Linked DNA regions of Homo sapiens: all the other regions are linked to region 1. Evidence: promoter capture Hi-C in 16 types of primary human blood cells and fetal thymus (Javierre and others, 2016). All regions are on one chromosome and are shown on one strand. The core of a region is centred on a gene start or on the middle of the fragment in contact, and the rest is flanking DNA. Distances in the headings are between cores, read along the strand shown.

Evidence for each region. The method cuts DNA at HindIII sites, captures the fragments that hold promoters and counts their contacts. A CHiCAGO score of 5 or more calls a contact.
Region 2: a fragment that was not itself captured here is called in contact with the fragment with the promoter of AFTPH in region 1 in 10 of 17 cell types (naive CD8 T cells, naive CD4 T cells, megakaryocytes and 7 more); the score reaches 9.2 in naive CD8 T cells.
Region 3: a contact is called between a fragment that was not itself captured here and the fragment with the promoter of AFTPH in region 1, in 2 of 17 cell types (total B cells and monocytes). The highest score is 6.1, in total B cells.
Region 4: a contact is called between a fragment that was not itself captured here and the fragment with the promoter of AFTPH in region 1, in 15 of 17 cell types (naive CD4 T cells, activated CD4 T cells, total CD4 T cells and 12 more). The highest score is 15.2, in naive CD4 T cells.
Region 5: a contact is called between the fragment with the promoter of SLC1A4 here and the fragment with the promoter of AFTPH in region 1, in 1 of 17 cell types (fetal thymus). The highest score is 8.0, in fetal thymus.
Region 6: a fragment that was not itself captured here is called in contact with the fragment with the promoter of AFTPH in region 1 in 3 of 17 cell types (total CD4 T cells, naive CD4 T cells and activated CD4 T cells); the score reaches 6.3 in total CD4 T cells.
Region 7: a fragment that was not itself captured here is called in contact with the fragment with the promoter of AFTPH in region 1 in 1 of 17 cell types (activated CD4 T cells); the score reaches 6.6 in activated CD4 T cells.

Annotation. Positions count from the first base shown.
Region 1 is chr2:64,522,117-64,526,031 of GRCh38, forward strand. It overlaps AFTPH (aftiphilin), which reads left to right and starts at 2,212. Exons shown (of 10, transcript NM_203437.4): 1 at 2,212-2,496. It overlaps AFTPH-DT (AFTPH divergent transcript), which reads right to left and starts at 2,039. Exons shown (of 1, transcript NR_136167.1): 1 at 73-2,039. MIR4434 (microRNA 4434) reads left to right here and starts at 3,397; the gene lies at 3,397-3,449. RefSeq lists enhancers at 1,769-1,988, 2,090-2,590, 2,591-3,091 and silencers at 2,189-2,348, 2,379-2,458, 2,469-2,718. The HindIII fragment of the contact is 6,179 bases long and covers 809-3,915 here.
Region 2 is chr2:64,028,184-64,032,098 of GRCh38, forward strand. No RefSeq gene overlaps it. Among named protein-coding and RNA genes, the nearest start is that of VPS54, 11 kb to the left of the region's middle. The HindIII fragment of the contact is 1,677 bases long and covers 1,251-2,927 here.
Region 3 is chr2:65,016,854-65,020,768 of GRCh38, forward strand. SLC1A4 (solute carrier family 1 member 4) reads left to right here. Exons shown (of 8, transcript NM_003038.5): 6 at 1,218-1,412; 7 at 1,692-1,826. Among named protein-coding and RNA genes, the nearest start is that of LINC02576, 12 kb to the right of the region's middle. RefSeq lists an enhancer at 173-252. The HindIII fragment of the contact is 3,369 bases long and covers 124-3,492 here.
Region 4 is chr2:64,045,940-64,049,854 of GRCh38, forward strand. No RefSeq gene overlaps it. Among named protein-coding and RNA genes, the nearest start is that of VPS54, 28 kb to the left of the region's middle. The HindIII fragment of the contact is 2,853 bases long and covers 259-3,111 here.
Region 5 is chr2:64,987,364-64,991,278 of GRCh38, forward strand. SLC1A4 (solute carrier family 1 member 4) reads left to right here and starts at 2,036. Exons shown (of 8, transcript NM_003038.5): 1 at 2,036-2,807. The coding sequence starts at 2,281. RefSeq lists silencers at 1,346-2,045, 2,256-2,435 and an enhancer at 2,038-2,622. The HindIII fragment of the contact is 3,825 bases long and covers 1-3,201 here.
Region 6 is chr2:64,065,144-64,069,058 of GRCh38, forward strand. All of the region lies in intron 1 of LOC124907774 (a long non-coding RNA gene), which reads right to left. Among named protein-coding and RNA genes, the nearest start is that of VPS54, 48 kb to the left of the region's middle. The HindIII fragment of the contact is 5,792 bases long and covers 1-3,915 here.
Region 7 is chr2:64,093,601-64,097,515 of GRCh38, forward strand. PELI1 (pellino E3 ubiquitin protein ligase 1) reads right to left here. Exons shown (of 7, transcript NM_020651.4): 5 at 2,813-3,010; 6 at 2,525-2,713; 7 at 1-1,668. The coding sequence ends at 1,102. Among named protein-coding and RNA genes, the nearest start is that of PELI1, 49 kb to the right of the region's middle. The HindIII fragment of the contact is 459 bases long and covers 1,549-2,007 here.

The sequences.
Region 1 (3,915 bases), core at 962-3,461:
GCCTTTTCGCTTAGTAACTTTTATACTGAGAAAAAAAATTCTAAAATTGAACAAAGCCACACACACAAAATGTTCATCTAAGTATTATTTTATAATACTGAAAACTATCCATATAGTGGTCATTCCATTGACTACTAAGCAGCCAATTAAAATTAAGGTTTTACATTAAACGATGGGTGGAAATGCTTACAACACAAAAGGGACACAAAATCTACTTAAATTATGATTACAAGTTTGTAAAAAGTACGCACAGGAAAAAAAAACTAGAAGTAAATACAACAAATGTTAACTGGTAATTTTTTTCTTCTTCTTTTCTTGATGCCAAATCTTAGGTAATGCAGTTATGGCCATAATTTTTAAAAGGTAAATAAAAACAATACTATCATTGACTCCAAATGAAATGGACTTTATATTTCCCACAGATTTATCACCTTAAAAACACTCAAATACTTTCCCTTTGTAATAAAATGTCATGAGCATTAGGGCACTGTCTTCGGAATTACATGTAAGATTACCAATTACAAGTTAGTTGGCCAAATAGGTACTCAATTTCCCTATTACAAAATTGTAAGCTGATGGGGGGTGTGCAATTTAATTTAATTTTTTTTTAGACAGGGTTTCACTCTGTCGCGCAGGCTGGAGTGCAGTTTAAATTCATTTAGTTTAAACATGTTCTTAGTGTAGGGTCTGCTTTAAGGTCTAGTCATATGTTCTTATTTTGATATTTCTGTTTAGTAGAGCTGTAAAATGAAAACAAGCATGTGTTCGTTTAAAATCAATTTCTAGTTTCTACACACACACAAATTCAAGCTTGCACACGAGCTAAACCAGCAGGGGGCGAAATACAATAGGCATAAATTTGACAAGCCATATAGATTTTTCTTACTTTAGTGACTGAGCAATAACACAAAATCCAGCATAACCACAAAGCAATTGATACTCCCATTTAAAGTGATGCAGTCTCCGTATATCTTACAGCGATTGAATAGTAAAGAGACAAATGCGGGTCCATTGGAGCGCTCCGAGTTAATTTGTCTAGAACATTGCAGAGGCGGGATAAATCGTGATGAACTGCTATTGTCCTTATCTTTCTCCTGATTTGTATAATTCCTCCACCCAAAGGGGTGGACACTTCTCTGTGCCTGAGGGGATGTTTTCCATTCTTGTTTCTTTGCGTAACTGCTGAGCTTTGCTGTTTTGGAACTATTTTAAATTATTCAAATTACTGATGCAGACGTTTGGCAAATATGGGCAGAATGAGGGGCCGGCGGGGGTCATGATTTGTAGGACCCCGGGCTCATCATCCGAGACAGTAATCATAATCCTGTAGCCTTGTAGTCTGATTGTTACACTGGCAGGTGTTCTAACAGATATTCATTGTAAAGGAGGAGGAAAGGTAATATTTTTATTACCTTTATATAAATAACAGTTGATTATATAAATAATCAACTGTTCAGGACTGATGATGGAAACAAAATCGGTTACGACCTCTGTTCCAGAAATGCGTTTGAATGCATAAGTTTATGGTGATCTCTTTAGCTTCACTAGATATTCTCCGTAAGGGTCTATGAAAAACGACCACCTTCTCCATCCATTAGCCAAATTCCGGACTACTATTTTCTTGTCGGTCTCGAAGACGATTTGTCAGTTTGGCGGCTGCTTTCCCACCTTAAATTCTATTTATCGCAACCTCTTGTTATTTGTTAAATATCAGCTTCTTCCTCTGTCGGCATAAATTTAAAAAGAGGAAGAGACAGGCTGTGAATGAAAAAGTCGTTTTTCGGGGCGAAAAGGGCAAGCTGACGAATGCTCTCTAGTAGGTTTTTGGTAAAAATGTGGTTCTATATTTCCAAACCTTTACAATTTTATTTGGAGAGCAAGAGACTTAATCCGGTCTTGAGCTGAACGTTAACCGGCTGAAAGGAGCACCTGTCCTTCGCCAGGAGCGCAGCCTCAACCGGCGCCTGAGTGCGGGAAGACGTCTATCCCCCTACAGCTCTATGACTCGCAAGGAAGTAAAAGGAAAGGGCAGCTTGCCCGCACCCAAAATGGCGGTCGGCGCTCTGCACGACAGCGCCTGCGCAGGGATAAGCGTTCTGTGACACCAATTCCCCTGGAGTGTCCTCCCCCACCCCACAGCACCCACCAGCGCCCGGTCCCGACCTAGCCACCTGCGCCCGGAAGTGACGTGTCGGCGGCAGCGGTTCCCCCGCTGCATGATGGGAGAGTGTGTGGAGTGGGCGGGGGGTCTCCGCGGAGGAGGTGGAGGAGGCGGCGGCGGCGGCGGAAGAGGGCGGAGGGTAGTGGGATGGGGGTCCCGCGGCAGCGGTGAAACTCCGGGTGGGCGTCCATGGTGCTGCTGCGCTGACAGGGCTGTGAGCAGCCGGCCTTCCGCTCTCACCAGTTCCGCGTCGGAATAGACGGTCCTTCCCCGGGGAGTCAGTTCCTCCCCGGGCCCCTGAGCCATGCCCATCGCAGCCGCCCCGAAGGAGCCAGGTAAGCGCCGCCGCTCCGCTCCCCTAGCTGCGCCGGGGAAAGAGGGTGCGGGGACCAGGCCCGGCCCAGCAGCCAGACCCTCACCCGGGCCGGGAGCATCTGCCCGCCGCGGAGCCGGGAGCTGTGAGGACGGAGCTGGCTCTGCGGGCCTGCGGGCTCCCGGCTCTGCTCTCTTCTGCGGCGAGTGCGGGAACGCCGCTGGTGGCGCCCGAAGCGCACGGCCCCCTCCTCGCCATCCCGGGCACCGGCCGGGTAAGTGGGAGTCCTTCCCTCCCCGGCCACCGCCGGCTCTCCCTGCCCCTTTGCTTCCACCTCCCAAAGCTCCGCGCTGGCTGCGTTCTCCAGGGAGCTGTTCAGAAGTTTGGGGCTTTGCTTGGGCTTCTTCGCTCTCCTTCCCCCTCCCTCGTGACAGGTGTAAACACTGCCTCCTTCACCGAGGCCCGAGGCTGGCCGCGACCTGAGTGTGCTGCTTCCAAGGGTCTCTGAAGCAAGCGAATTTGGAATCCTCCAACAGGCAGAGGGGACAGCCCCAAAGCTCACGCATCCCTTCCTCAGAGTACCTTTTCTGCTGTCTTCTTGCACTCTTCAAGAAATTATCTGCGTCTCCTCTCCAGTTTGCGTTTGAAAAGTTGGACCATATTCCTTAAGTGCCTGGTTTGGCAGGTGCTGCGTCTTGCTTGGGGCAGAGGCAGAGTATGGAGTGAGGGGTGGTAGGGTCCTTGCTCTATTAGGAAAGTAATGGGGATAGCAAGGTTTTTTTTTCCTTGTTGCTTTGTGCAAGTTATAGCTTGGTTATACTGAATCTTTTCTGTTGGGGCCGAGGGAAGAACTGACTCATACATGTAAATTTTTTACTGGGCGGGGGGATGAAACAAAAGTAATGGTTCCGTTTCAAAGTTCTCACTTTAGGAGAAGTAAAGTAGAACTTTGGTTTTCAACTTTTCCTACAGTGTAAGTCTTCCTTCCACCTCCTATTCCGAGGATTTTATTTGGTGGAGGGGAGACACAGAGTTTATCTTTGATGCTACACTTAATTGTTGCTTTCAGTTAACCTCTTAGACATTAAAATATATGCTAAACTCTAGGGACAACAAATGTTTCAACATTATTATGTTAATATAATTAACACAGTCACGTACATTTTATATGCTTTACCAGTTTAAATGTTGGCTTTTTTAGTAGTCATTTTTAACACTTCGCAGAGGTATATTTGTTTAAACAAAGTATCTGTGGTAGTCTCCTAAATTTTGTTCATAAAGATATTTCACATGGATTAAAAGACAGATCTTGTGTAAAACATCTAGCCCAGTAAATGGCACCTAGCAGATATTCATTAGCTCTAGTTGTTCCTCCGTGGATTAAATTAGATATATCAGTTGATCTTCAAAGTACACATATATTTTTAAATCTTCAAAAACC
Region 2 (3,915 bases), core at 839-3,338, 490 kb before region 1:
GCCGTTGCTCAGGAAGAACCCCCTAAGGGGTAGAAATACAAGGGATACAAATTCTTACCCCACTATATAATATTTTTAAATGGAAAAAAATAAAAATCAAGCAGTGAGGAAAATTTTGCAAGCCAAATAGAGACAAAACAACCCTGAGCATCATAAAACTAGGCAAATTTAACAACATAATCCAAAGTAAGAGATTAATATAAGAATGGATTGCAATTATGTAATGGATTTTCCTGGATACCAAAATGCATTATAAAGGTCATTTAATTCTCATGCCACTGTCTGGTCATTTTGGTTCCCATTACACCAGGCAGTAAAACATCTGTATTTTTTTACTCTCTTTACTGCTATGAATTCCTGAGCTCTAATAAAAAGTTCTCAATCAGAATCTGGTTTCAATGTAGAAGTCTTACTTCCAAAAATCTTACTTTATATTTAGAACAGCATTTTTTTCCCTTCCATGCTTTTATTTAATAGCTTTTAAGCCAATATATAAAATAGAATTAATAAACTCAAAAGAAAGAAAACATCACTGAAATCAGACTTTTAGGACAGCAGATGCCTCTCATTTGACAGACGAGGGCTGAGACAGATCATGTTTTAGTGGTGGCAGCTGATTTCCAATCAGAAACCAGGTTTAAGGACATTAAGACTAGTGATCTTTGCCTCGCACTATACTGAGGAAATGCTATAACAACAAATAGCTGGAAAAGTAAGAATTATGTTAACTGAAATTAGTTATTACTTGAATTAAAAAAAAATTGTATTCTCCTCTCACTGTCCCCAAAGGAAAAGTTAGAACTTTCACTAAAATATGAAGTTTTTCATTACTTGTAAGAAAAAACCATCTTGTAGGAAAGATTTTGCTTGGTAACAGATGTTTAATAACTTAGGAAATAATCAACATACATTAATTTATTATTTTAAATACTCTTTACCAGTTCTTAAGTCCAAAGATAGATCTCTTGTTTGGTTGCAAGAATCCAGTATTTTAGAAAATGTATAGCCTATTTTCGTGTATTCTTCCTTCATAAATATGCAAAAGCCTATTTCTATTCTTCTAAGTTTGTCCCAACTTTACTTTGCAGATCAGTATGCATAGCAAAAGAAATGTAAAATGAGCATAAAGGACACATTTACAAAGCATACATATTTCTGTGTCTATTACAAATTGAAAGTCAGGCAACTGACAGTTTTTCCCCCTGCAGAGCTCTACAACAAGCATACATCAAATCAATGAGCAAACAAAAAGCTTGTATAAATGGCTTTGTCTTTATGATTAAACTGGCTCACTCATGCATGCCAGTGGAGTGCTGCTTTGATTCCAGGTGGTCAGCATATCTCTCTGGTTAATGGCATCCAAGAAGGAAATTGCTGATTCTTTACTGCCTGCCGACCTACCTATATTTTGCTCCAGTATATTGGTGGCTACCTCAGTTACTCACTACTTGCCCCCAGAATGAGGTTAAATTTGTCAAAATTATGATTCCCCTTAATGATGGAACCAATATTGTGATTCTCATTCTAAATCTTTTATTGTAATGAAGAGGTAGGAAAAATATTTCTACACAAGAACTCCTTAACCCCCAGCACACATCCTCATTCTTAAATAAATATCCAGATATCCATTCACACTCAATGGATATTTATCAAGGGTGTTCTGGGTCCTATAAGCTAGCAGTAAGCAAGACTGGTTCCGTTCATGCTGTCATAGAACTTACAATCTGGAGTGAGAAGAGAGACATTAAACAATTATAGGAATTGTTCGACAACAGTTAGGATATGTATCATGAGAAGGCAGAAGTTAGGAGAGCTTGTCAAGCTGAGTATAATTTAACATAGATAAATAGAGAATCCTTGCCCAAGAAAGCAACATTTAAACTGAAAAATGAATAGGAGTTGGTCAGGGTAGAGGAGTAGTGGTGGTGAAGAGGAAACAGCCAGCAGAAAGAGGCTCTGAGGCATGAAGAACTAGTAGGCTAGTAGAGGAAACAAAGGACCAATGTGGCTGGCATTAAATGAGACAATTGGGCCAAAGCCAGAGCATACAAGAAGGTGTAGGTCTTGGTGGAGTTTGAGCTTTATTATAAACTATAATAGGGCTTTGGGCAATGAGGTGACATAAGCATGTTTTTAAAAGATCGGTTTGACCCACTATGTGGAAAGTGAATTAGTGGAGATGACCAAAAGAAGGTGTGGCACCTGCAATTAGAAGGTTATCCAAGGGGTCCAGGTGTCAGGTAAAGACTAAGACCAGTTAGACAGATGTCTTCGTTGGCTTGGGTTGCCGTAACAAAATACCATAGACTGGTTGGCTTAAACACCAGAAATTTATTTCTCACAGTTCCAGAGGCTGAACTCAGGGTGCCTGTATGGTCAGGTTTCTGGTGAGGGCTCTCTTCCTGGCTTGTAGATGGCTGCCTTCTACTTATGTCCTCATATGGTAGAGAGAGAGAGAAACATCAGTCTCCTCCTCTTCTTATAAAGACATTAATCCCTTCAAGGGAGTCCCACCATCCTGACCCTTTCTAAACCTAATTACCTTCCAAAGTCTCATCTCCAAATACCATTACAGTGAGGATTAGGGCTTCAACATATGAATTTGGGTGGTGGGACACAAACATTCAGTCCATAACAACAGATTGAAGAGATATCCTTGGAGACAGAATTGACAGTACTGGGTGATTGGCTGGACAAAGAAGCTAAGAAATGGGTAGGGATTAAAGATGATTCAGGTTGGGTGCAGTGGCTCATGCCTCTAATCCCAGCACTTTGGGCAGCCAAGGCTGGCAGATCATGAGGTCAAGAGATTGAGACCATCCTGGCTAACGTGGTGAAAACAACATAAAAAGGGAGAACAAATTTATTGCTTCATGTCATTAAGAAGTCCAAGGTTAGGGATGACTTAAGACATGGTGGGATCTGGAAGCTTAAATGATCAAGCAGGAACCAATCTTCCCACTTCTCTCAGCTTTACTGTCATTCATTTAAAAATATTTATTGAAAAGCTACTGAGTCCCATGCTCCATTTTAGACACTAGAGATGCAGTGGTACAAAAGACAAGCAAGTCCACTATCACTGCTTCTTTTCAGCATTGCACTGGAGGTTCTAGTCAGTGCAACAATTCAAGAAAAAGACATTTTTAACAATATAAGAATTGAGAAGAAGGCTGGGCACTGTGGCTCATGCCTGTAATCCCAGCACTTTGGGAGGCTGAGGTGGGTGGATCATGAGGTCAAGAGATCGAGATCATCCTAGCCAACATGTTGAAATCCCATCTCTACTAAAAATACAAAAATTAGCTGGGCGTGGTGGCGGGCGCCTGTAGTCCCAGCTACTCGGAAGGCTGAGGCAGGAGAATGGCATGAACCCAGGAGGCAGAGGTTGCAGTGAGGCGAGATTGTGCCACTGCACTCCAGCCTGGGTGACAGAGCGAGACTCTGTCTCAAAAAAAAAAAAAAAAAATTAGTAACATGTTTGTCCAATGGCAGCATTAAGAGAATAAAAAGGCAAGCCCAGTGGGAGAAGGTATTTGCAACACCTGTAGCTAAAAAGGCCTTATATTCAGGATATTTTAAAAGATAAAAATTTTAATATCTCCTACAAATCAAAAAAGAAAAAAAAATGGGGGGGAGGGGGGAGGGATAGCATTGGGAGATATACCTAATGCTAGATGACGAGTTAGTGGGTGCAGCGCACCAGCATGGCACATGTATACATATGTAACTAACCTGCACAATATGCACATGTACCCTAAAACTTAAAGTATAATAAAAAAAAAAAAAAAAAGAAAAAAAATGGGTAACTCAATAGACGCTTGAATAGGTACTCCACAAAAAAGGACATACAAATGGCCAATAAACATATGAAAGGGTATTCAGCCTCATTAGTAATTAGGAAAGTGCAATATGATA
Region 3 (3,915 bases), core at 558-3,057, 490 kb after region 1:
CAGGCTGGTCTCGAACTCCTGGGCTCAAGTGATCCTCCCACCTCGGCCTTCCGAATAGCTGTGATTACAGGCATGCACAGCCACACCAAGCCTCACATGATTTCTTAAAATGACCAGCCCCAAAGCTTTTCTGTATTCCCCTGGGGTGGGTTTCTGTTTCATTTACTATTCTACTGAAGTTACCTCATTCTCTTCTCCCTCTTGCTCCTTAGAGGTCAGCAGATCATTAGTTAGCCCAGCTGCGGGTCCCTCACCCTAATTAGGAAGACCTTTCCCTGAGTAAAAGAAGGCAGCCCACCTAACTCAAAAATGCATTGCAGGGAAGTTTCTAGAATGGTTCCTGCCCAATTCTCCCTTTCTGGATATGTGAATTAGAAAACGAGTCTGAGGCACCGTGGTGAGGGATGGATGCTTAGCCCTCTAGGAGTCCACAATAGTGTGGGATTGTCTCATTTGGCACAAGAGATGCATCCTGTCATTCACTGGAAAACCTTAAAAAAAAAAAAAAACACTGGGTTTTCCAAATATGTTAAAACTTTCAAAGGACGGCAGCACGTCGTTTCATTCACACATTTAGTTTTGCCTCTACTGCTCACTTCCTCCCAATCTGGATGGCTATTTATATAACACAGAGGTGGGAGTAAAAAAAAAAAAAAAATTAGGGAAGGAAGTTCCTCTGGCCTAGACAAAAACCTGTTTCTCAGCTGCACCAACTAACCTCTGCAGAGCCCGCAGAGCCAGCTAGAGGGAGCAGGTACTGTTCTTATGGTTATCTACTTAGTTATTCTTCCAAGCTCACAGAGCCATTTCTGGGTTTTGGCCTAAAAGAAAAAAAAATCATAGTTTACCATTTACTTTTGGGAGGGGAACACTCAAGAGAGGAGATGCACATGTAGAGAAACTAGTTGTTTGTTCTCTCGGGAACGTTTTGCACCGGGAGGCAATGTGCAGTTCTTAAGAAACTTGGAACACGTGAATCCAAGTAAATGACAGAATAGGTAAATGAAGGCAGTCATATTTTAAGTATCTTGGGAGTTGCCAAAGCCTCATGTTGTGACAGAAGTTTTAAAGTGATTCTGTTTTTTCCCTTATTTCAAGAGAAGAAAGCCAGAAACGAAGATGGTGCTAATTGCTCTGTTCTGGGGTCTGAGACAAGACACATGTTAGCCTGCCTCGGACTGTTGTCATGTCTGGCGGTTTGTTTTTCCCATTTCTAGCTCAGCGACCCTTCCCTCTATGATGAAGTGCATTGAAGAGAACAATGGTGTGGACAAGAGGATCAGCAGGTTTATTCTCCCCATCGGGGCCACCGTGAACATGGACGGAGCAGCCATCTTCCAGTGTGTGGCCGCGGTGTTCATTGCGCAACTCAACAACGTAGAGCTCAACGCAGGACAGATTTTCACCATTCTGTAAGTTCCTCATTCTTTCCCTGGCTCAAAACTGAAGGCTTTTCTTGTGATTTCCTTTGAAAAACCAATCTCACCACAACTTGGTGTCTCGCTCATAAAATGAGGACAGTGGGGATTCATTACTTGAAGAGCGTGTGTTGACTCTCAAGGGCGTAGCCAGCAGAGCCTATGGTGGGGCGGTTTTTAGTTTCCAGCCACATTGCAGCTGCATGGTCTGCATTTCTCTGTGTCCACTCCACGCTCTATGTTAATGGCTGGCCCTGCTCTGCCATCCCTTAGAGTGACTGCCACAGCGTCCAGTGTTGGAGCAGCAGGCGTGCCAGCTGGAGGGGTCCTCACCATTGCCATTATCCTGGAGGCCATTGGGCTGCCTACTCATGACCTGCCTCTGATCCTGGCTGTGGACTGGATTGTGTAAGTAACAAGTCCTGAGAACACCAAAAAGAGTCTGCACTGAGTTCCCTAGGAGCTTAGCACTGCTGGGCCTGGGCCATGCAGAGAAACTTCAGACACACTCCAGCCTTGTGAAGGAGGCTACAGTGGAGCTAAAAGGGCAAGATTTAGAGCTAGGAAAAATTAAACAATATGAGAGTCACATGCCCCCAAACATCCAGGAATGACCATGAGATGTCATTACCAAGAACTTGCTTATAGCATCCAGTAAAGCAGGGGTCCACAGCTGAGGCCCTCAGCGCAGGCCCAAGGGACACGAGGGTCTATGGAGTTGCTGACTGCATAGGAGTAATAAGTCGATGGAGCAGTGATCCTTTGGGAATGATTGTCCCTGGCCTGGAAGATTCTAAGGAGTGATTTCTGTGAGGGGAGGGAGGATGAACCATGCTGATGTGAGTGACTTGGGCTTGGGCTCAGCAGAGGAGGAGGTAGGGAAGAAGGTGTGATCCAGACCACATCTCTGGGGCTGCTGTGAAGACACAAAACAGTTTCTGTGCATGGATTCCTTGAGTCACATGATACCTTTTGCAGGCATGAATAATATCTATTTTATAGGGAAGGCTGCCTGAGGTACTAAAGTTGAGACAGTAGAGCCTGTGGGTAAGAAAATGAGCCCTGGAGCCCAGGTGCCTGGATTGAAATCCCAGATTTGCCATCTAGTAGTTGTGTAATGTGCACTGTGTGTGCTTTGGTCTGCTCATCTGTAAAATGGGAATGATCATAGCACCCACACCAGGGTTGTGGGGAAGATTGAGCGAGTTAGCACGGGAACAGCACACAGAATAATGAGCACGTGGTAAAACATTCAATTCATGTCAGCAAAGAAAGACACTCCAGACCAGGTTCGTCACAGGCAGGGCCTGGCACTGGGCTCACGGACTGGCCTGCTGCAGGTGGGAATGGTGGTTTTTCCAACTTGAAGGGGCTTCTCAGAGCAATGAGGGTAAAATCTGCAAAAGAGACCTGCATTGCGCAGACACCTCATCAGAGGGAACTCCGTCCCTGAGCTGGCCAGCTGGACAGGACCAGAGCTGACAGAGGCCCCCTCTCCTTCCTCACCCAGCCACCTCCTGTGCGTGGAGAAGAGGCATCAAAGAGGTGCTTGGCCAGGAACAGGGAAACAGGGCACCAAGCCGGCTGCCCAGTGGAGACCTGAAGTCACACAGGCCTGCCAGCCACCCCATCCCCTCTGATTCTGCAGACAGCAGGACGGCACTCTGCAGGGAGTCAGCTCCCCAGTGCCCTCAGGGAAGATCACATTTTTCCCTCTCTTCAAAATGTGCACAATACTTCCTCTGAGCTCCAGGGACAGGGGAATGGTATTGGCTAATCTATAACACAACAAGCTAGCTTCTGGAAAGGATAGTGATATTTTCTTTGAGATGGTATTTATATTTGCCGATGGCAATGGAACACATATGAAGATTAACATCCGCAGTAAAGTAGCGTTGAAATGAGAAAAAGAAGGGAAACTCCCACAGTGTATTATTCAGTGGAAGAAAAGCTAGACACAAAACCGTATCCACACTATTATCCCAATATGTTTGTTTATTTGTTTACTTATTAGAGTCAGGGTCTTACTCTGTGGTCCAGGCTAGAGTGCAATGGCATCATCATAGCTCACTGAAGCTTTGAACTCCTGGACTCAAGCAATCCCCCCACCTCAGCCTCCTGAGTAGCTAGGATTACAGGCACACTCTACCATGCCCAGCTAATTTGTTTATTTTTTGTAGAGATAGGATCTCACTATGTTGCCCAGGCTGGTCTCAAACTCCTGGCCTTAAACAGTCCTCCCACCTCAGCCTCCCAAATTGCTGGGATTACAGACATGAGCCACTGTGCCTGGCTTATGTGTGATTTTTAATTATGGTGTCTAATACATATAAAATACGTGTATAGAAAGGTGACTGGAAGGAAATAGATTAAAATGGGCATACAGATTCACTCAGTTGGGGACTAGGGGTGAGTGGCTTGTTTGCTTCTTTATGCTCTTTTTTATTCTTTCTATAAAAATAAAAAGTGTTTAAAGAAAATCAATTTAGAATAAGGT
Region 4 (3,915 bases), core at 435-2,934, 480 kb before region 1:
ATGTTTTAATATTCATGGTGAACTATCTTTTCTACTAAAGCCCTTAGACAACTGGCAGTAGCAATTTTCACTGTCTAGAAGGTGGCTTCTCCAACTCAATGTGCATAAGAAGCACCTGGAGCTCTTGTTGAAATGCAGATTAAGATTCAGTTGCTCTGGGCTGAAGCCCAAGACTGTGCATTTCTATTAGGCTGGTGCAAAAGTAATTGCGGTTTTGATGGCAAAAACCACAATAACTTTTGCACCAACCTAATAACAAGCTTCCAGGTGGTGCTGGCGCAGCTGGTCTGCAAACCACACTTTGAATGGCCAAGTTCTGTGGCCTCTTGTCCTTCCCTGCTAGCTGGAAATTCACCTTATAACAAATTCAAACCCACTTTGGTCCTTTGGGCTAAAACCGATCCAAGATTTAAGATGTTCAAATTGGGATGGTTAACTGATCCCATTACATGTTCTGCCCTGCAAGTTAGAATGCGGACTTAAATGAAAAATTAAACTATAGTCAAGATTTTAAAAACAGTTGAGGCTGGGCAAGGTGGCTCATGCCTATAATCCCAGCACTTTGGGAGGCCAAGGCAGGTGGATCACCTGAGGTCAGGAGTTCGAGAGCATCCTGGCCAACATGGCGAAACCCATCTCTACTAAAAATACAAAAATTAGCTGGGCATGGTGGCAGGCACCTGTAATCCCAGCTACTTGGGAGGCTGAGGCAGGAGAATCACTTGAATCTGGGAGGTGGATGTTGCAGTGAGCCAAGATCGCACCATTGCACTCTAGCCTGGGAGACAAGAGCGAAACTGTGTCTCAAAAAAAAAAAAAAAAAAAAAAAAATTGAAAATGTGACCCACACTCTCCATATTCATTCATACTCTCTATGTCCTTTGATTTAACCAGTATTCTTGTCATACCTTAATCTCTTCTTAATGAATAAGATTTAAAAAGATGTATCGATGGAAATAATGTGTTAAACAACTTATCTGTTGACATAGCAAATAAGTAGAATTATTTTAGAAAGCTATTTAGTAATCTGTATCAAGATGTTGTTTTTTTACACCAGAATTGTTTCAATGTTTGTTTTACCCCATATTCTCATTCTTGATAATTTATTATACAAAATTATAATATTTGCTGAGCATTGCCACATGCTCTTCACTGTAATGGATTGTAGATTAACTTGCAGTAAGGAGAAAAGCACTTTCCACAAACATATTTATTTCAGTATGAACTAAAATGAAAAACATAGGAAACTAAACTTCAACAACTAGGTAAATTTTTATATAACAACTCAAAGGAATAATTCAAGACATTAAAAATGTGTAAATTATAAAATTGTGTGTTAAATGAATGCAAATAAAAAACTATAGAAGCAAAAAAAAAAAAAAATGAAAGTTAAAGAGGCAGAATTTTAAATAAAATGTTGCCTTAAAAGTTACTTGAGGCTGGGCACCGTGGCTCATGCCTGTAATCCCAACACTTTGGGAGGCCGAGGCGGGCGGATCACAAGGTCAGGAGTTCGAGACCAGCCTGGGCAACATGGTGAAACCCTGTCTCTATTAAAAATACAAAAATTAGCCAGGTGTGGTGGCAGGCGGCTGTAATCCCAGCTACTCGGGAGGTTGAGGCAGGAGAATCGCTTGAAACTGGAAGGCGGAGGTTGCAGTGAGCTGAGATCGCGCCATTGCACTCCACTCTGGGTGACAAGAGTGAGATTCCACCTCAAAAAAAAAAAAGTTATTTGAAAAACTACACACACACACACACACACACAAATGTGTAGAAGGATCAGATAATACAAGGCTTCATTTCATTTCTTTGGCTGTTGAGGCAACTTTTAAAAAGCCTTCTCTTACACCAACAAAAATATTCTTGTCCTTTCCTGCTTTCATAGCCTACATCTTCCTGTTTGTGAATACAGGTAGGAGATGTTGGAGTGGCAATCTGGGGCTCTCCCGTGGTTTACAGTGAAGAAAATAACTCAGTTTCATCAAGAGGCTGGCAAATGTTTTGCAGATATTTTACAATTGTATCAACCATAACAATGCCACAGATTCTACAAGGCTAAAAACCAGGCAGCAAGGCATTTGTCTTTCGGCTATTTTTGCTTAGAAGTTATTGGTGTTTGGCCTTATTTTCTTATATTGTAAACTTTTTGGATATTGGATATTTAGTTGTAAATGTCAGCTTGTTTATATTTGAGTTTACTCAACATTGGAATCCCTAAGGAATTCTTGAAGTTTGATAAATTCCCAGATACAACGGCACAATTCAGGGAGAGGAGTTTAGAGTCGTGAGTACCCTTTGCAGGAAGATAATGGTAAGCAAAACCTACTCTTAAAAGTTGTGTTGGGGGGTAGACCACAGTAGCTGATGGATGGTGAATGGTCTCAGGGTGGGAGTGGAGAATGGAGAAGGAAGAGGAGGCTCTGGGGCATAAAATGATGGGCCCTATACTAGCACCTCATTCTTGCTTTTACAGGGGAGGGAAAGACTTTTCCTCTACCCTCCTAGGTTTAAAATTTGAGTCTGTGAAACAAACTGACAATACGCAGATTAACCGGAGAAAAGGTATACAAATTTATTGCATGGATGGGGCATCACAAGAGAAAAAAAAATGAATACCCAAAAAAGTGGTGAGATTTGGGAGCTTATACTGTCTTCGTAGGGGAAAGAAGAAGAGGGATATGGACAACTTAGGAGAGGGTAAATAATTTGGGGGAAAGAATGAGCCCTTAGGGAGATGGAATCGTTTGTAGCAAACTCTTACATTCTATTATAGATGTAATAGAAGTGGTGTCCACTTCTAATCTTCTGTCCTGTTGTAATAGTCAATCTTCCTGGTTGATTAACCTACCAGAGAGGGGAATTAATGACAACTGAGTTCATTTTGGAGGATCTGTCTTCAGGCAGGTAAGGGAGAGTTCAGAGAAAGCCTCTCCCTGCATTTGCTGTCTTTCAAGTGTCTTCAGCTTCAAATAATTAGTATACCAAAGTAGCATATTTTGGGGTGGCATGTCCCAAATGCCTTTGCTTTCTTTTTTCTGAGTTTGGGAAATGTTCTTCCTTTTCTTGGGCACACTGTCCCCACCAAAGACAGAACAAACAAACAATTCAAGCTTTTATGCAATGAGATAGACACTGTGCTAGGCCTGCTCCCATTTTTGGCCTCCTGCAAAAATCCCAAGGAGCAACCTGGGAATATTTTTTTTTTTTTTTTTTTTAAGATGGAGTTTCGCTCTTGTTGCCCAGGCTGGAGTGCAATGGTGCGATCTCAGCTCACTGCAACCTCCACCTCCCAGGTTCAAGCAATTCTGCCTCAGCCTCCCAAGTAGCTGGGCCTACAGGCATGCGCCACCACACCTGGCTAATTTTTGTATTTTTAGTAGAGACGGGGTTTCTCCATGTTGGCCAGGGTGGTCTCAAACTCCTGACCTCAGGTGATCCGCCTGCCTCGGCTTCCCAAAGTGCTGGGATTACAGGCATGGGCCACTGCGCCCGGCTGCAATTTGGGATTTTTGTAGGAAATCAGGAACAAGGCTCAGGAATGCTGTCCTGAAAATGATCAAATCCTTTCACCTGCCTGTCTTGCTAGGGGCGTGGAGAATACATAAAGGTACACAGAACTAGAAGGATGGAGGAAATAATGAGGCTGTCATGGGAGATTTCCTAAAGGTTACTATGAATTAGCTAATTTGTGATACCTTGTTGCTAATTGCTGAAGAGAGGCTGCTCTTTTATTCAGAGTTATGGCTATGCCAGTTCCTTCTGGGCACTATTCATATGCATGAGTTTGCCTCTTGTTCTACATCAGTGCCTCCTGGTTTGCCCTCCTCTTTACACTCTTGACATGCAGAGGTGAAGGCAAGTGTGGTTGTGCTTTCGTTAATTTTGTATGGGAGGAAGTGGTTGTTCAGTGAC
Region 5 (3,915 bases), core at 786-3,285, 470 kb after region 1:
GGAAGGCAACCATGAGTTTGGTTTTGAACATTTTAGTTGGGACGCCTGCAGGATATTCAGGTGAAGATGTAAAACAGGCAGCCGAAGACTCATTTCTGGAGCATGATTTGAGAGTCTTTTGCATAAACGTGGTAGTCAAAACAAAGGGAAGGGCTGATTGGCAAAACACAGTGTGTGTCTGTAGGAATTACTCTTTCTTCAGTGCACATAGAGAAATGAACTGCATTCTGGAAAGCCAGATATAAATATGTGCAGCTCTTCATCTGACACTACCTCCCCCGCCCACCCCCCCCCCCCCCACACACAATCCTTACAAGTTCTAGCCAATAGCTGGCTGGCTCCAAGCAATAAAATACTCACTGTCTCAAAATTTGGACAGCTCCTTAAAGTTCCTTATGAAGGCATTTTGATTTGCACAAATATGTCATGACATGTTTTAAGATGACTCCTTTATAGCAAGAAATCTATAGTAAATTGCCTTCCTCCTTAATTGAGGTTAGCCACAATTAAGTCTTCCCTTGCCTGGCACAGTGGGTGGTGCCAGCTACCAAGGAGGATCCCATAAGCCCAGGAACTGGGAGACCAGCCTGGGCAACATAGCGAGACCTTGTCCCAGAAAGAGAGGAAAGAAAGGAAAGAAAGGGAAAGAAGGAAAGAAGGAAGGAAGGGAGGGAGGGAGGGAGGGGGGGAGGAAGGAAGGAAGGAAGGAAGGAAGGAAGGAAGGAAGGAAGGAAGGAAAAAGAAAAAACAAAAGACCACCCACGGAAGTCTTTAAAGAACAATTCACAAGCAGAATAAAAAAATATAAAAATATAATAACTGTGATACAGTAAAAAGACTCAGCAGAAGTTTCCCTTGTAACTCGCGTGGCCAAAGCAGATATCAAATAAAAGATGAAATAAACAGGAAATCCATAGAACGTGAACAATAAGGAACCGTTCAGGATGGCCAAACCGCCGTCTGCGCTGTTTTCTCGCCAGGGCTCAGGCCTGGGAACGGAAGAGGTTAAAATCCAGTGGCTTGTGTTTCAGCTTTGGTTACGTGGCAGAAACCAACTGGAAGTGGTGGCGTGAGAGCTCTGTTTCTTCTAGAAGAGCTTTGCGTCTTAAACGCCCATACCGCAGACAGCTGCCTGGCGGGCGACCCAGCCCCATCCTGATGGCCCCAGGACACAAGCCCAGGAGCGCCCCGGTGCGCGCGGTTCCGCGGCCCAGGGGCGCCGGGTTTGGTGGCACAGCGAGCCCCCTTTCTCTAGCGGTATGGCTGCGTTAGAGCCCTAATGAGCGCGTGCGAAGGCTCCCCTTATTCATCCATCCTCCGGTCCGTCCTTTGTCTCAAGGCCGGGGCCTTGCTGGGCACCATGGCGTGCTTTACCGCACAAGCCCCTGAGGACCCCTGGAAGAAGGGATCTTCCGCAGGAGGGGACGCGACGGCAGGACCGCCCCGGGCCCCCTCACCGCGCCCGGCCCCCTGGCGGGAGAGGCCGGCGAGCTCTGGAGAGGAGCGCGGGCCGCGCGGGGCGAAAGCGCCACCCGGGAGAGAGGGATCCTCCCCTCTCCTCCTCTCTTCTCCCCTCCCCTCCCTCCCCTCCCACAGTCCTCAGGAGGAGGAACGCCGCTGCGTTCTAAGTTCTCCCGGGCCCTCTGGCCCCGAGGACTCAGATCCCGGCCGCGGGAGAGGGCCCGGCAGGTGCCAAGGAGCCCGGGCGGTCCTTCAGCCCGCACTTCCCCGCGGTCGCCCGGAGCCGGCCTCCGTTAGCCGGGCGGGTAGGCGGCTATTGGCGCCAGGATTGGCCGGCGCCGCCCGCGCCCCCGCGGCCTCGGGTGGAGCCTCCCGCCCGGCCGCCCCCTGCGGCACCCGCGACACGGGTGGGGACCAGAGGCTCCCGGCGGCGGCTCCCGGCGGCGGCTCCCGGGCTGTGATTGGCCAGCGCCACAGGGGGCGGGACGGCGGGCGTGAAGTGAGCGGGCTGGGGCCGCTGGCGCGCCCTCCTACTTCCCCGTCTGCGTCCGCGTTCGCGGCTCCCGTTTGCATCATCTCCAGCCGGCGGCTGCTCCAGGGAGGCTGGGCGCGATCCTCTCCGCCCGCGGCTCCAACCCGCACTCTGCGCCTCTCCTCGCCTTTCTCGCACCTGCTCCTGCGCCAGGCCCGGAGACCCCCGGGGCGGCTTCCCAGAACCTGCGGAGCACAACTGGCCGACCGACCCATTCATTGGGAACCCCGTCTTTTGCCAGAGCCCACGTCCCCTGCCACCTCTAGCTCGGAGCGGCGTGTAGCGCCATGGAGAAGAGCAACGAGACCAACGGCTACCTTGACAGCGCTCAGGCGGGGCCTGCGGCCGGGCCCGGAGCTCCGGGGACCGCGGCGGGACGCGCACGGCGTTGCGCGGGCTTCCTGCGGCGCCAAGCGCTGGTGCTGCTCACCGTGTCCGGGGTGCTGGCGGGCGCGGGCCTGGGCGCGGCGTTGCGCGGGCTCAGCCTGAGCCGCACGCAGGTCACCTACCTGGCCTTCCCCGGCGAGATGCTGCTCCGCATGCTGCGCATGATCATCCTGCCGCTGGTGGTCTGCAGCCTGGTGTCGGGCGCCGCCTCGCTCGATGCCAGCTGCCTCGGGCGTCTGGGCGGCATCGCTGTCGCCTACTTTGGCCTCACCACACTGAGTGCCTCGGCGCTCGCCGTGGCCTTGGCGTTCATCATCAAGCCAGGATCCGGTGCGCAGACCCTTCAGTCCAGCGACCTGGGGCTGGAGGACTCGGGGCCTCCTCCTGTCCCCAAAGAGACGGTGGACTCTTTCCTCGACCTGGCCAGGTAACACTCTCCACCTCTCCCAGGGCCCAGTGGGAGACGCCAGTTCTCGGATGCCCTCCAGTTCATACACCCATATGCTTATACACTCCTAAGAGTTAATTCTTAGCTGGCTGCTGGTGGCGTTTAACGTTTTAAAAATATCAAAATGACGTCTGGAGTTTTTGCGTGCTGACCACACCTTTGCAAACAGCTGGGGCGCACCGCACAATCGAAAGAGCAGGGCCGCATCTTTGAGCAAGAACCAGTCCCCACCGTTAGGTGGGCGTTTGTTAGGGAAGAGCCAGCCGCCCCGCCTGTTCTTTACTCCTTATACTCTCGCGCTGCTCTCCCCGGTAAAAATGTTCCGACCACGCCCCAGTGGCTTCGCCTCATTTTCTCCCACATGGTGCCTAAAAGCTTCTGGGAGCATTGGTTAAGTTTTGCCTCTTGGGTCATCCGGCTTGCAATCTATGGCCTTCTCTGTTACAGTCCTTGGCTGCGAAGGAAGCTGGCAATTTTCTGCAGTTATCAGTGGACCCACGGATAATAGGGCTGGGGTTAGTTGAGTGAGACATATTGCCCAGAAATATGCCTCTCCTGAGGGCTTGGGGCTTGGGACAGGTTGCTGTCCACCCCAGTAAAGACCACGGCAGAGTGCTGTGTTTCAAAGGCCTTTCTTTGTGCGAAAGTGTGAGTTCTAGAGGGGAGGGAGAGAAGCATCTTCACTTAGTTTTGCCTGCTTTTTGCAATTCTTAGAAGTTGCATTTCATCCTTTGAGATGATGTAGTATCCTTTCTGTGACTTATCCAAAACCTTGGTCTCTCCTGGTTTCTCCATTAGCCCAAAGTTCACAAATGGGGAAACTGCAGCCCGGAGGCATTTACTGATCTAACCAGGTTCAGTTGAGTGAGGAGTCCAGCTGGCTCCTTCTCCAGATTTCTGATGATTTTGGATTCTGAGCCTTGGAGTTATTAATATATTTTGTCTTGAGTTATTGAGGCAAAGCTCCTCATTGCTGAGGTTGTGAAAAACAGCAAACCCTGGGCAAAGTGACTTGCCTTTCCAACTGTTTCCATTTCTCCTTCTGGAAAATGTGATGGCTGTCTGCACTTAAGAGAGAGATTGTTCA
Region 6 (3,915 bases), core at 577-3,076, 460 kb before region 1:
AAAAATACAAAAAATTAGCTGGGCGTGGTGGCGGGCACCTGTAATCCCAGCTACTCGGGAAGCTGAGGCAGGTGAATTGCTTTAATCTGGGTGGCGGAGGTTGCAATGAGCTGAGATCGCGTCACTGCACTCCAGCCTGGGCAACAGAGCGAGACTCTGTCCCAAAAAAAAAAAAAAAAAAAAAAAAGCAGCAGGCAGGAATTTGGGACATTCAGAGAGTACCAGCACAGGGTTGCCCCAGATGAGTGGAGGGTGCACTAAAAGAAGAGGAGGCATGTATCCTGCTTTCTGTTTGGAACCGGGGTAACTACAGAGAAGTAGCTTGAGATAGTGATTTCTGTTCTTTGGGGTCATGCATGGTCTTTAGGAGATCCAGTGGTAGAATGATAAAGGCTAATGGGATGAATGGGCTGGAAGAGGCCTGGCCCTTGGGCCAAGAAGTTGTGAGGCTTATGGTCCTTGCCACTGAGAGCCATGGCAGGGGCCGTGGCTGTCAGTAGTGGAAATGGTTCTAGGCCCAAAAGCCGGAGATAATTTCCTCATCAAGGGAGGCCGGGAGAGCCTGGATGATGGCAGACAGACTTGCTCTGCCAGTTTTTCAAGACCCGAATGACATCTTAAGAAAGAGAAGTGGGAGAGGAGAACCATTGGATCAGGGAGAAACCTTGAAAGATTGAGTGAGTTTCCAAGGAAAACTGTTGTAAACGTAAAGAGACTGTGTTACCTTTAATTGGCAAGATCAAGTGTTTCCACCTACGTTAGGAATGGGGGCTTTCCAGCAAGAAATCATTATCGACAATGAAGTTGCTTTTTTTTGTAAATCTAGTTTTTAGTGAGTACATTTAAACCCTGCTACATTAGGAAGGTCTGTATTGCTACCAAATAAAGAGAACTCAGCTTGACATACCCCTGCCTCTAATGGAGAGAGGGGGAGGAAGGAGACGGAGGGGAAAGATTGAGTCTGTCAACAGTAGTTACCTCCAGGGAAGATAACTGAGGGACAGAGAAGGAAGAAAAACCTATTTCTCATGGAACGTTTTCTGTACCTTTTGCATTTTTTCCATATGCATGCATGAACTATTCAAAAATAAATTAAAAGGGGAAAAATAAGTTTCTGAAATGAGAAGCATGCAGATGCACAGAATGTGATATTCAGTGCTTGGCAATTAACCTTAAATAGTTTTCATCTCACCAGAATCTTTGAGCCACTTCTCCTCAGTGTACCTTGTGGTTATTCCCTTCATTTGTGTAGGTGTTGGGTAAGCTGTCTGTCTTGCCTTTCCAGCGAGCCCATGACCCATTTGTGCATGGTACTCCAAACACTGTACCACCGACCCTACAGGTGGCCCATCGCTTTTACAGGGGAAAACAATCCCACTGACCCATTTGGTCTTGCCCTTCATCCTGGATTGAGGTGTGGGAAGGATTAATAAGGGTTTTTTGTTCTCACCCTGGTTATTTCCACCCCATTGGCATCACATAACAATGGGGAAGCAGTGGAAAGAACTTAGGTGCTGGAATCAAATTTGCTAGGGCTTACCTCTGCCAGCTACTAGCTTTAGGTACTTGGGTGGGTCTCAAGTTTCTTCTTCTATACATTGGAGTAATACAAACCTCACTGGGTTATCACAACACAATACTAGAACTGTTCTGATTACCCCAACCCCCAGTCTAAGAGACCAGACTAATTTTTGTAAAATCTCGCATCCAGCCAAACTTAGCATACCTATTGTCCCTGTATTCCTCAGTTTCTACCCAAGACATAAGCCTCTTCATTCATCTGTTGTATCCCTTACTCTCATTTATATCCTTCCCCGTATTTCACTCCCTTGACTCAACCTCCCTCTGCTTCCCTCTTTTAAGTAGTATGTTTTCATTTGCAGGCTACAGGAAACTCAAGTCTAACTGGTTTAAACATTAAGGGCATTTACCGACTCAAGTAACTGAAAATTCAGCAGTGGCAAAGGCCTTGGGTTACCTGCCAGACAGACATACCAAGGGCCTTGTTTCTTCTCTTTCTCTACTCTCGCACCCTCAACGTGAGCTTCATTCTGGGATTGGCTCCCCTCGTGGTTATACAGGCTGGAGGTCAGCAGCAACTGAGCCTGCATGCTTCTGCATTAAGTCCAGAGGAACTGAGGAGTGAGTCTTTAACCATCAAACAAAAATCCTGGCCTTTCATTAATTAGAACAACCTGAACCAATCATGGTGACTAGGGGAATGCCATGTGCTAATTTGCTTAGCTCTGAACTAAGTTATCCATTTTTGAGCCAATTACAGTGACAAGGGAGTTGAGATTATGATGACTGATTTAGATCAGAGGTTCTCAACTGGGAGCAGCACTGCCTCCTTCAGAGTATTTGGAAATGTTGCTCTGACTGGGAGTACCACTGGCTTTTACTGGAAGAGGGATGGGGGAGGGGAGACACAGGACAGTCGTGTGGAATTTTGGTCTGCCAAAAATGCCAATAGTGCCTCTATGAAGAAACACTGACTTAAAACATCAGGGCACACTTCTGAAACAGGAGTTTGTTTTCCCTTAGGTACATAAGCCATACTGGGGCAGGATGGACACCTAAACAAAAATGACTAGACTACTCAGGCTCCTTCCTAATCTTTATTGACTCCCTTCTATCTTTACTTAGATCCCTGCTCAGCCTATTATGTATTACTTTTAACTAATCTCTTGACAATGTCATTTACTTCCTAGCCCCATTCTGCTGTACCTACCCAGATAAATCCTATAGTGACACTGACTTGAGAAAGATACTTTCAAACCTTTTAAAAATCAAAGCTATAGGCCAGGCGTGGTGGCTTATGCCTATAATCCCAATACTTTGGGAGGCCCAGGTGGGGCAGATCACCTGAGGTCAGGAGTTCAAGACCAGCCTGGTCAACATGGTGAAAGCCTGTCTCTACTAAAAGTACAAAAATTAGCTGGATGTCATGGTGGGCGCCTGTAATCCCAGCTACTCAGGAGGCTGAGGCGGGAGAATCGCTTGATCCCGGGAGGCGGAGGTTGCAGTGAGCAGAGATCACACCACTGCACTCCAGCCTGGGCGACAAGAGTGAGACTCCATCTCAAAAAAAAAAAAAAAAAGCCAGTGTAGTGGCTCATGCCTGCACTTTGGGAGGCCGAGGTGGGTGGATCACAAGGTCAGGAGATCGAGAGCATCCTGGCCAACATGGTGAAACCCCGTCTCTACTAAAAATACAAAAATTAGCCAGGTTTTGTGGTATGCGCCTGTAGTCCCAGCTACTCAGGAGGCTGAGGCAGGAGAACTGCTTGAACCCGGGAGGCAGAGCTTGCAGTGAGCCGAGATCATGCCACTGCACTCCAGCCTGGTGACAGAGCAAGACTCTGTCAAAAAAAAAAAAAAAAAATCAAATCTATATAATATTTAAAAAAAATTTTTTTTTTTTTGAGATGGAGTCTTGCTCTGTTGCCCAGGCTGGAGTGCAATGGAGTGATCTCAGCTCACTGCAAGCTCCGCCTCCCAGGTTCATGTCATTCTCCTGCTTCAGCCTCCCGGGTAGCTGGGATGACAGGTGCCCGCCACCACACCTGGCTAATTTTTTGTATTTTTAGTAGAGACGGGGTTTCACCGTGTTAGCCAGGATGGTCTTGATCTCCTGATCTTGTGATCCACCCACCTCGGCCTCCCAAAGTGCTAGGATTACAGCCGTGAGCCACTGTGCCTGGCCTTTTTGACTTTTTTATGCAGAGTCCTTCTCTGTCACCCAGGCTAAAGTGCAGTGGTGAGATCTCAGCTCACTGCAACCTTCGCCTCCTGGGCTCAAGCGGTCCTCCCACCTTGGCCTCCCAAATTTCTGGGACTACAGATGTGAGCCACTGCACCTGGCCCTTTGTCTGTATTTCATGTATACCTGTGCACATCCATGTGTTTGTATAT
Region 7 (3,915 bases), core at 528-3,027, 430 kb before region 1:
CAATCTCCTTAGGATTCAAACCCAGAGTTAAGGCTGGTCTGCTAAAAACGGGGGCACTATTGTCATTCAACCCTTTAGATCTCTAGATTTCCTAATGCCCGAATAAGGCCAAATACAGAATAATTAATTAAGCATTTCTTTTTCCAAAAGCAAATCAAGTCACTCTCCTTTCTTGCTAATTTATACTTTTTCTTATGGCAATGATTTTTTTCTAGAAACAGTGAACAGATGAACCACAGTTTATATCCAAAAAATAAACTTGCCAAATGCTGCTGATACTAAAAACAGATTAGTTATCATGGGAGAAAAATAGATAATCTAGATTAAATTGCATATCCAAAGGAGCATATAAAATGTTTCTTAGCATTAAGTTTTTGTTATAGTACTACGCTCGAGAGAAACATTAAGAAAAAATCTTTCCTGATTATCTTCAATGTTGTTAAAAACAAACACCTTTCACGCGGGTAATTAGTATGAATTTGGTCTTACAAATTACAAAGTATTCTAATTTACCAAATTCCATATTTAGATTGGGGTGGGGAGAGAGGCTCTCTCGTCCTTCTTCCTAACTTTGCAAATCCTTGAGCTAGGTTGCTCACTAAGCTACCATTCACACCAAGGGTGTGACACCATCGTTACCATGCTACTCTATCAAGAACATTCTAAGGTATTTTCTATAATAAAGATAAATAGAAAAAAGTTAATATACATGTCGCTGTATTTTACAATGTTTGCAACAAACTGTAAACTAACATAGTTTGAACCAACAGTACCCTCAGTTATACAAAACAATTTCAGCACTGAGGATAGGTGATTCAAAAACACTAAAAGGAAGGCATCAAATTAGACTATGTCTTTTTCTCCTCAAAATATATTTTCAAAACTCAGAATTCAGAAGACTGATACTTTCAGAAATTCCTTTGCTTGAGTTTCCCAGATTTTTGCTCAGAAATTGCTACTATTTATTATAAATGTTTTAAAAAATTCTTCATCTTAATGCAAATGACCAGAGCAGAAAAACTGTGACGTGGACAACAGGTTCGAAAACCCAACTCACTTAGCTTATAAATTTATAATGTAGTCCTGCAAGACAATGGTCTGTTAGTCTAGAGGTCCTTGAAAAATAAGTCTGATGTAGCCTTGTTCACCAGCCAACTGATGTGCACAAAAGGGACAGGCTGCATGAAAAGTATGAGTACCATGAGGAAGTGGGATCTGGGACCAATAGGCAGTTGTCTTTTCTGAACACACATGCCCACACGGGCTAAACGCATGGGTTGGAGGGCCGGCGTCCACATAAAATCCAGCTTCACATCCAAGCCACAGAGGAACATAGGGACCAACAGACCTACACATAGGACATTCACGATCTTTTCCATCACGTTCTTCTTTGTTTCCCCAGTTATGATAGCCATGTACATGGCCGCAGTTTAGATATACCCATGGTTGTTTTTCATCTACAACGTCTTTCCTCTTCATACTAGGAAATGCTAGTGTGTTGAACCCTACAGGGCACTGAGGTCGTGCTGCATTGATTTCCTGTCTTAAAGCTTCTAAATGCTTCACGGTAGGAGTGTGGGAAAGGCCTTCTGCAGTACGCCATAACAATGTTGCACCACAGAGGTCAATTAACGAGCCATCTTGTAACTGATTGGTTTCAATTTCCACCTAGAGGAGACAAGAGTTGAAAAACATATTCACCACTCTGTTTTGGATTTTTACATAAGTGTTTTGGTTTTAAGTACTCCTTACTCAAGAAATGAGGTTTCCTAGGATTTTCACTAAATATTCAAGAAACTGACAGTAGTTATGAAAAATGTTAAGTTTGAAAATCAAGGATAAAATATCAAACATTAACATATTTCTTTTTAGCCTTATGGTAAAGACAACTTATGATTAAAACATCTGGCTAATCAATAAGTCTAATATTTTTAATGAGGTAAATATGGTTTAAGATATACAGATGGCAACAGAAAAGATCAGAGGGAGTGCTGTTTAGTTTAAGAAAGCTTAGGTTTTAAAATATATTAACATGATATGACAGAAGAATGAACTTCCAGAGTTTACTAAAATGCTCTTGTTGCCCAGGCTGGAGTGCAATGGCGCAATCTTGGCTCACCGCAACCTCTGCCTGCCAGGTTCAAGCTATTCTCCTGCCTCAGCCTCCCGAGTAGCTGGGATTACAGGCATGCGCCACCATGCCTGGCTTATTTTGTATTTTTAGTAGAGACAGGGTTTCTCCATGTGGCTCAGGCTGGTCTCGAACTCCTGATCTCAGGTGATCCATCTGCCTCGGCCTTCCAAAGTGCTGGGATTACAGGTGTGAGCCACCGCGCCCGGCTACTAAACGAAATATTAAAGAGACTGTCCTCTAGTATAGAATTTGGTAGTCAGTGTTTGATAGACTTAGTATTCTGTGTTGGCAATAGATTTAAGAGTTTTCTGGAATGTATGTAATGCATTCAGTTCTACTCATCCTATGTGTTTATTGTAGCTAATTAAGAAAATACCATTCAGTATTTACCATTTTTCCTCTCTGCTGAGCCGATCTGGTTTCACGTAGGCTAAATACATTTCCACACACCGATATTTCTCTCCATATTCCAGGCTTGGAGTCTTCTGTGAACCCATTGCGTGGATGCATCACAAGAACACCATTAGTGGTCAAGCCATCCATCTGTCCATCTGATGTCTTCCATTTGGCAGCCTTCTCCTAGTAGAAATAATAGCAGTGAGCTTCCAACTTGTAACTTGTAACTTGGAATGAAAGCTAGTATAAAAGAAAGCATCATTTAGAAAAAAAGCTTTTTACCCCAAGAAAGATGTTTTTTGATGAGTCAAATCCTGCAGCATAAATCCGTGCTGTAAAGGGAGGATTCCGTTCACATATGATTCTGCAGGCAAATCTTGATATAGTGCTTTGTACTGACTGTGTATCAGAATTACTTTGACTTCCAGGAACCGTGTCAGTTACTACAAAATCAATGGGGCTTTCAGTCGACCGGCCAATCTGAGGGAAAAAAAAAAATACCTATAAACCCATTCAAAGAGCACAGTGGAAAATCCATTCAAGAAGGGCACAATAAGGAGAGAACATTAGGTCTCTGAAATTTCTAAAGTTGAAGTTTACCATACTTAACGCTGGGGGCATCTATACTCTTGAAAACTAATCAGTCAGACTGTCTCTGATGAAGTAATCACTTAGAGCATGGAATTAAATGAGAACTTACAATAATATACGAAACCCTTAGGGAATGAAGAATTCAGGAACGGCTGAGATTTCTAGATGGCTGCAGATTTTAATTTTAACCCTTTTGGATGGAAATATGTGTATCATGTAGTTTTTTTCTCTTTAGAGATATTTAAAGAGATATTCTACCTTATTTAACAGAATATAGTGAACATATATAAGTAAATCTTTTAGGATGACTGCAGAACATTACACTATAAATACCACTTACGTTAAGCTGAAATGCAGTGATGTCTTCAGGTGCTACAAGAGGTATACAAGGCTGCTGGTCCTTATGTCAAGGGCTTACACAGCCTTGCTTTGAGGTCTTATGTATACTTCATATATTTTCTTGTTTCTTTTCTGTCAGGTTGTCAGCTATCACTCCTTGTTTTTGGTCATGCTTGTTTCCAGCAACAAGCCCCTCTTTTAACTGGCTACTCTTACTCTGTTATGGGTTGAGAAATCAAATAACCTATTTCAGAGAAAAGTATTTCAAAAGGTTCTGGTGAGAGCCTAAGGGATCCTCTAGGGAGAATAGAAAAGGAATTTCACTACATCAACTTTGTGGCATTTATTTTATATATATACTCTTCCTGGTTCTTAGGGATATTTCAGAGAGACAAGGTTCCCAGATAAGAGTTCTGGATGAGTGAGGTGTCAGAGATTTAAAAATATCTTCAGAG